Linked DNA regions of Homo sapiens: region 1 is linked to region 2. Evidence: promoter capture Hi-C in human tissues and cell types (Jung and others, 2019). All regions are on one chromosome and are shown on one strand. Each heading gives the region's core, a stretch centred on a gene start or on the middle of the fragment in contact. The rest is flanking DNA. Distances are from core to core; before and after follow the strand shown.

Region 1 (3,708 bases), core at 676-3,175, 290 kb after region 2:
AAGCAACTCTCCTGCCTCAGCCTCCCGAGTAGCTGGGACTACAGGCATTGCACCACCACACCTGGCTAATTTTTGTATTTTTAGTAGAGATGGGGTTTTGCCATGTTATCCAGGCTGGTCTCGAACTCCTGACCTCAGGTTATCTATCTGCCTTGGCCTCCCAAAGTGCTGGGATGACAGGCATGAGCCGCTGCGCTCAGCCTCTCAGTTCTTTATACAGTGAGATGATAAGTGTAGCTACCTGCTAAGATTGTTATGTGGTCAAGTGAAAATGCTTAAATACCCGGTACCTAGAAAGCACTCAGTAAACATTGGCTCTTACTGTTATAGTTATGAGAGGGTTCTTGAACAGTGATAAGAGGCAAGTCGCGTTTTAGCTAGCTTTAAAGGTTAAGTAGGATTTGAAAAGGCAGAGAGGACTGCGGGGGGAAGTCCCAGGCATGGAGTGTGATGTGAGGAAAGGATGGCAGTCAAAATACAAGGCATATATAGGAAATACTGATGAGAGGGCTTTTGTTGCATAGGGAAGGTTTATGGGGGGATTGATGGGAAAAGAAGCTTGAGGGAAAATTGGGACCAGGCACTGGAAAGTATTAACTGCAAGGCTGTAGAGTTTTAGAAAGAATAATCTGAAAGGTGGATTGTGGGAGAGAAGGGAGAAAATGAAGGCAGGGAACCAAAGAAAGGAAGCTGGACTTCATGGAACTAGATTAAAAAAAATAAGTATGGCCTGTAATCCCAGCTACTCAGGAGGCTGAGGCAGGAGAATTACTTGAACCCGAGAGGCGGATGTTGCAGTGAGCTGAGATCATGCCATTGCACTCCAGCCTGGGCGATAGAGCAAGACTCCGTTTCAATATATATGTATATATAATTTTTGTGCTGTTATATGTACATGATCCCTTTTTCACCAAAATTAAGAATATGTTTAGTGAGAGCCATAAAACTAAAAATGCTTTTGCTAGTTTAAAACTCGGTTTAACCCATCATGATAAAGCAGTTTAATGGTCTGTTTCTAAAACTTCAATTTGATGCTTAGTTTTGATGGCTGTAGAGGTGAAAAGAATAAATTCAGAAAGATTTGTAGCTTCAGATGGAAGAATCACAGTGTCAGTTCTGCTTAGTAACTTGTGATTGATCCAACCTATCAACCATGCTGAATTTTTGTTGTTGAAATGCAGGGTATAGTCTTACAAACTAATCAGGTGGTGGCATTTTATATTTTTAACAAATAGGCTTAAGACCCACCTGAAATTCTTCATTTGAAAGATTTTTAAACAGGTTAGAAAATATTTCCAAGTTTCTTTTTTTTTTCCTTTTTTTTTTTTTTTTTTTTTTGAGATGGAGTCTCACTTTGTTACCCAGGCTGGAGTGCAATGGCGTGATCTCAGTTCACTGCAACCTCAGCCTCCTGGGTTCAAGCGATTCTCCTGCCTCAGTCTCCCAAATAGCTGGGATTACAGGCGCCTGCTACCATGCCCAGCTAATTTTTTGTATTTTTAGTAGAGACGGGGTTTCACGATGATGGCCAAGCTGGTCTTGAACTCCTGACCGCAGGTGGCCCCCTGCTCCCTGCCTCAGCCTCCCAAAGTGCTGGTATTACAGGCATGAGCCACCTCACCCAGCCCCAAGTTTCTAAAATGTGAACATAGATGGGTTTTTCCTGGATACTTGACATCATTTTTGGCAGTTAAATTACATAACAATGGAACCATTTCATACAGCTGTTCCTGTAATTGCCCTTTCTTCACACTTTCTTTAAAGAAGCTGATTACTCATTGGTGACTTTTTCTTTGATTTAGACTGACATTGGTTTTTACCTCCTAATGTGGCTAAAACCTTACTCTAGATAGAAGCTTCATCTGTGCCATTTTCTTCTTGTTCACATCTGTTTATATTATTAGTGTGTCCTGTAATTGCAGTTTCTCTATAAGAATCTTTTTTTTTTTTTTTTTCCTTTTCCTGATAGGGCTTTGCTCTGTCACCCAGGCTGGAATGCAGTGGCGTGATCGTAGCTGACTGCAGCCTCAAACTTCTGGTTTCATGCAATCCTCCCACCTTAGCCTCCTGAGTAGCTGTGACTGCAGACACAGTCCCCATGCCCAGCTAATTTTTTTCTTTTTCATAGGGACAGGGTCTTGCTATGTTGCCCAGGCTGGTCTCAAACTTCTGGCTTCAAGCATCCTCCTGCCTCATCCTCCCAAAGGGCTGGAATTATAGGCATGAGCTACCATATCTGGCCACAAGAATCTTTAAAGCTGCTTGTCTCTTTTATGACAGAGTCTCGCTCTGTGGCCAGGATGGAGTGCAGTGGCGCGATCTCGGCTCACTGCAACCTCCGCCTCCTGGGTTCAAGTGATTCTCCTTCCTCAGCCTCCCAAGTAGCTGGGACTACAGGTGCCCGCCACCGCGCCCAGCTAATTTTTCTATTTTTAGTAGAGACAGGGTTTCACCATGTTGACCAGGATGGTCCCGATCTCCTGACCTCGTGATCCGCACGCCTTGGCCTCCCAAAGTTTTGGGATTATAGGCATGAGCCACTGCGCCCAGCCAAAGCTAGATTTAGAAATCCATTATTTCACATAACTGGTCTCAGATAAACCAGTCTACATCACAATGTCTAAAATGAACAACACCTGTGACAGGTCAGCACAGACTAAGTAAGTGTATTAGTGTCAATTTATAGCTTAATTTCTCTCTCTTTTAAGATACAGACATTCCAATTATTTTCTTTCTGTATCCTTTGCGGATCATCTTGTACTTTGGAAACCACAATTTAACTGCCCAAGTCACTCATAAAAATAGCAAAAGTAGCTGGATGGTACAAAAGTAGGTCCCAGGGCTTCAAATTTGGTTGAATATTGACTCCAGTAGGCAGCCACCTACTACTGAGCAAACCTAACCCTCAGTTATGTCATTTGTAAAACAGCACTTAACAGTTTGGCCGACCTGCTAGGGCTGTTGTAGGGACAAAAGAAGATGGTGCGTGTACTGCTTTAAGCCTGGCACCTGGCACTCTGCTAACATTCAGCTCTCTGGGCTGGGCACTGTTAATGCTCCATTTCGTAACCTGCTGTCAACCTGCAGGTAAATCACTCTGACTCCAAGCAAACACCCTGAGGGTGGAGTCGGCCTGTTTGAGGTTTCTGTTTGCAAATCTTGATATATGAAGTGACAGTGGAGATTGTACAGTTTTTTCCTCGATTTGTCAGGATTTTTTTTTTTTTGACGGAGTTTAACTTCTTGTCTCCCAGGTAGGAAGTGCAGTGGCGTAATCTCGGCTCACTACAACCTCCACCTCCTGGGTTCAAGCGTTTCTCCTGCCTCAGCTTTCCGAGTAGCTGGGATTACAGGCGCCTGCCACCATGCCCTGCTGACTTTTGTATTTTTAGTAGAGACGGGGTTTCACCATGTTGGCCAGGCTGGTCTTGAACTCCTGACCGCAGGCGATTGGCCTGCCTCGGCCTCCCAAAGTGCTGAGATTACAGGCGTGAGCCACCACCCCCGGCCTCAGGAGCGTTCTGATAGTGCCTCGATGTGCTGCCTCCTATAAAGTGTTAGCAGCACAGATCACTTTTTGTAAAGGTACGTACTAATGACTTTTTTTTTATACTTCAGGAATAGTAAAGAAACACATCATAAAACCTCCCAGGACATAAAGGTGAGCACAGACCCTGTTTGGATCAAGTCAGTTCCTGGAGCCTGAAT
Region 2 (4,170 bases), core at 1,386-3,885:
TTTGATGGGCCATGTATGGACTTCCCCAACTGGGGATTCTGGATATCTGAAGACCTTCCCAGTTTGAGGTTACTGAGGGGTGGAAGACTGGATGAAGCAGAAAAGTTGATGGAAGAGGTAGCCAGCCATCAATTCAACCATGAATCTGCTAGTCCCACAAGCTTGGCCCCAGACAGGCAAATTAGGAAAATGTGGTTCAAAAGTACGGTGTGTATAAATGGATCCATATGCCTCATATGTGCTTTCAGCTGAAAGGCAGGCACCTTCTAATGGCCAGGTACCTTCCTGTTGATAGCAAAAGATGGAGTATTCCACATAAGTAACCATAAAATGTTCCAGATAGTTGAATTAAGACCTTGTTTTCTCTTCTTTAAAGGGTAGCCATTAAGGCAGTATAGGTTCCAAACATTCTGTACAAATCCAGTGACTCTGATAATATGTGGTAAAATACAACTAAGAAACAGCATGGAGGCTCGTGTTTGGAGAACCCAGCAGAGACAGCATAGCCAGGCCCAATAGTGCATTTGGATCCTTGCCCCAGAATAGTTAGTGGAAGTGTGTGCACCATCTACCACAACCAGGGTGGCCTTGGGTTTTCCCACTCCTGTTCCTTCCTTTGTTGTCACAGCCATGGAAAATCAATGGCACTAATCTCTGCTTCTAAACTTTCTACATGTTACATGATCTCTCAGGCCAGGACAAACTATTGAGTTAATGTGTGAGCAGCATTGGCCCCCGAGGAAAGATCTAGGTGAGTGTCTAGATTCACATGATTCCACGTCAAGGCAGAGGCTGTGCTTGGCAAACTGTTTAGTTTCTTTCCAGCTCCCCTCTGTTTGGTAGAGTAATGCTGCTTTTTGTTACAATGAAGAGGCTAACAGAAAAATCCATCATCTATTGCATGTAATTGTATAGGCCTAAGAAGGGCATGGTCTACACTATAGCTTCTGAATCCTGGGCTGTACCGGCATCGTCTAAGGCTAAGGTATTGTCTGCCTGACTGCCAGAATCTGTAGTGACAGCCCCACAACATGGCCAGCCACACACAGAGTGACACTGATGGTGCCCTTGTGTCCAGGCTTCAAGCAGATGAGATGCCAACATGTTTGTCCTTCAAGTGACCTCCACTAGGGGGCCAGGACCCATGAATATCTATTTGGAGTTCTACCCTGAGGGGTAAGGAATATTTTCTCACTTCATCTTGATCCTACCTGGATGCTTTTGCTATCATCACTGGCTCACAGTCTTGCTTACTTTCTAGCCCTGAGAGTTTAGGATAACCTGCTAAGCAGGTGTATTTGAAATGGGGGTATTAAAATAAACTCTTGGGAAAGTATTTTTAAAAAGACATATGCAGTCTTGTCCTAGAGATATATATTTGTACATTAGACTCATATTCCTGACATTATTCTGGAAAGGTGAGGTTATCTTATACACATTTATTGTCACAAATACTGAACTAATAGCCCTCTTTTATCACTCAGAAGGAACATGCTGGAAATAGTCTATCTCCAAAAAAATCTGGCTTTAAAAAGGATGAATTTAAGCCACACCAATTCATGTTAAATTGCCAGTAGATGGAAACTATGTTACCACAACTCACTGAATTGCTAACTTTTCTGTGAAAGAATTAAAACGAGGTTTGTATTTTCTGTTTCCATGTGACCATGATTCCTTACTCTTAATAACTGTGAAATTGAGTTAGAAGTAAAATGTGACAGGCGGGAAGCCTCCAGTACACACAGTAGGGAGTGACTCTTCTCTCCACCTGCTCTAGGATGCCAGGATCTCACTGGTGAGAAGATTCACCCTCTTCTCCTGCAACTTAAAGGGAAAAATGTAAAATCCAAATTCTGGTTTGGTAAGCTGGGTACAAACCATTGTCTATTAGATTATCCTCAATCAATGCTGTCCCTAAACCCTTCTTTCCACTAAAGATGAATGGGGGAGATGCTTATTTATTCCTTTATAGATCTGCAAAACATCCATCATAACCTCTATATGTTTGTAGCATCCAACACTTAAGCTACTTCTCCTTGAAAATCTTTTTTTTTCTTTTTTTTCTCTTTTTTTTTTTTTGAGATGGAATCTCACTCTGTTACCCAGGCTGGAGTGCAGTGGCATGATCTCAGTTCACTGCAACCTCCGCCTCCCAGGTTCAAGCAATTCTCCTGCCTCAGCCACCCAAGTAGCTGGGACTACAGTTATGCACTACCATGCCCAGCTAATTTTTGTAATTTTAGTAGAGATGGGGTTTCACCATATTAGCCAGGCTGGTCTTGAACTCCTGACCTCAGGCAGTCCACCTGCTCAGCATCCCAAAGTTCTGGGATGACAGGTGTGAGCCACCACGGCCAGCCTGAACATCCTTTTTGCTATTCAAAACAGATAAGGGAAAGAGAGGCCTGATTAGCACCCCAAGTCCAAGGAAACAGAGAAGAGGAGCCTGAACAGTTACTCACAGATAGAGGAGTATCAGGCTGACAGCCAGGAGAAGCCAGGTTTCCACGGCCAAGTTTGGGATGAGATCCATCACTACTTTCCTTCCTTATCTCTCTCCTCTGAGTCTTTTTTTCAGCAGCGTGCTGCTGTTTGCTGGGCTGTGTGTGTGGAGCTTTCCTGCCCTGCACAGCAGTGATTCAGTGAGGCTGTTGGATTGTTTATATGCTGGAGAAGGAGGCAGGGCTGGAGCTGCAGCCAGTAGCAGGGCCCCCGTGCTCTGCCTGCAGTCGGAAGAGGCTTCTCCACCTCGGCAGTTGGCAAATAATCACACACACACCACTCACTGACCTCCATTGAGTTAATATTCTATGTAGAATCATACACAACTCAATCAATGTTACTGGGGAGTCCAAGGGTTCTGGGTTCTTATCACAAACTCAAGTGGAGCCATTGGCATAAAATCTATTAACTCTCCTCTTGTCTCTATGGCTGTCCTCATTCCAGAATACTTGAAACTCATCCCAACAAGCCATGCCTACAGATCTTTACCTATGCCTGGAGTGTGCCTGTGCCCCCTAGAAGACTCCTACACATCCTTTCATACCCAGCCAGACAGAGCCTTCTCTTAGAGTCTTTCCTCACCAACCCCCTCACACAGAAGTAACCATTTCCTCCCCTGGGCACTTTCCATCCCCTTCATGCAGTTCTATTGTCTTCTTTCCTCTTTACCACCATTGTGTGTTTCCAGGCCTGTTTCCCTTAGCAGAGGTGAGCTCCTCAAGGGCATAGTCTGGTCTTACTCACTCTCATGGCTCTGGTCCCTATCAGGGTGCTGTACACACAGTGGGGACCAGAAAGGCTGGTGGAGTTGACTTGGCTGAGATTGCTGGGCCCCTGTGTGTCACTTCCTCTGACTTTCTGGTGACCACTCCATCTTCTTAGGTCATTAATACAGCCAGAGCTCTTGGCTGTGCCTCAGCTGCTGTCTCTGCACTTTCAGATTTGTCCTCTGTGATTCTGTTGGCAAGAGGACCCCTAAAAAAGAGACATGGCATGGATGAGATGGAGCTGATGGCTTAGTGGAATAGCATCAATTTGTGCTTCTTCCTCTGTAGCTTTCAAAAGTCCTGCCGTAGATAGAAAGTTAGACAGGTTCTTTGCCAAAGAGTGGCCCCTTCTCTCTGGAAATACTGCATGTCTGGAAACAGTAGGGGAGAAAGAAGAGAAGAGAACAGCTGCCCAGATGGCCAGGTTGACCCAAACCACCTCAGCCAGCAACAATGGGGCAGTGGTCACTGCAGGTCACACAGCATCAAGGACTCCAATGAGGTGGTCCCAGCCTCTTGAGGGTGGAATTGGAATTCAAAGCAAATGGCTTCCTTTTTGACAAGTGGAGGATTTTCTAATGGGAGGAGAGCAGGTGCCAGGAGCTGGTAGAGATGAGGCCTGTAATAACAGTTGCTGCCACCTGTGAGCCCTGTGACCCATTCCTGATGGGAGAGATCTCAGTGATGAGGGTGTGAAAATTATATCAGCTCATTATCATCACTCACACCCAAGTTCTGTGTCTGCTTGGCCTGAGAAATGGATTCCATGACAAACAAAATCTCAGAGTTGTTAAAACTCAGTAGAAACAGATGATGTTTAAGCTGTGCTTGTTCACTTCCTTCTCTCTTTATTCTTTCTCAGGTTCAGCACTCCTGCAGAAACTGATACTCACCCCAGAAA

The links. Contacts are between HindIII fragments. The study calls those that stand out against the background at their distance.
Region 1: a contact is called between a fragment that was not itself captured here and the fragment with the promoter of CYP3A7 in region 2, in 3 of the 25 tissues and cell types used here (liver, mesendoderm cells and thymus).

Annotation. Positions count from the first base shown.
Region 1 is chr7:100,019,801-100,023,508 of GRCh38, forward strand. ZKSCAN1 (zinc finger with KRAB and SCAN domains 1) reads left to right here. Exons shown (of 6, transcript NM_003439.4): 2 at 3,619-3,708. The coding sequence starts at 3,707. Among named protein-coding and RNA genes, the nearest start is that of ZKSCAN1, 6.1 kb to the left of the region's middle. The HindIII fragment of the contact is 5,144 bases long and covers 1-3,708 here.
Region 2 is chr7:99,732,561-99,736,730 of GRCh38, forward strand. CYP3A7 (cytochrome P450 family 3 subfamily A member 7) reads right to left here and starts at 2,636. Exons shown (of 13, transcript NM_000765.5): 1 at 2,463-2,636. The coding sequence starts at 2,533. CYP3A7-CYP3A51P (CYP3A7-CYP3A51P readthrough) reads right to left here and starts at 2,636. Exons shown (of 15, transcript NM_001256497.3): 1 at 2,463-2,636. The coding sequence starts at 2,533. It also overlaps a transcript of ZSCAN25 not described here. RefSeq lists promoters at 2,533-4,170, 2,533-2,775 and enhancers at 2,781-2,811, 3,796-4,170, 4,093-4,104. The HindIII fragment of the contact is 8,535 bases long and covers 1-4,170 here.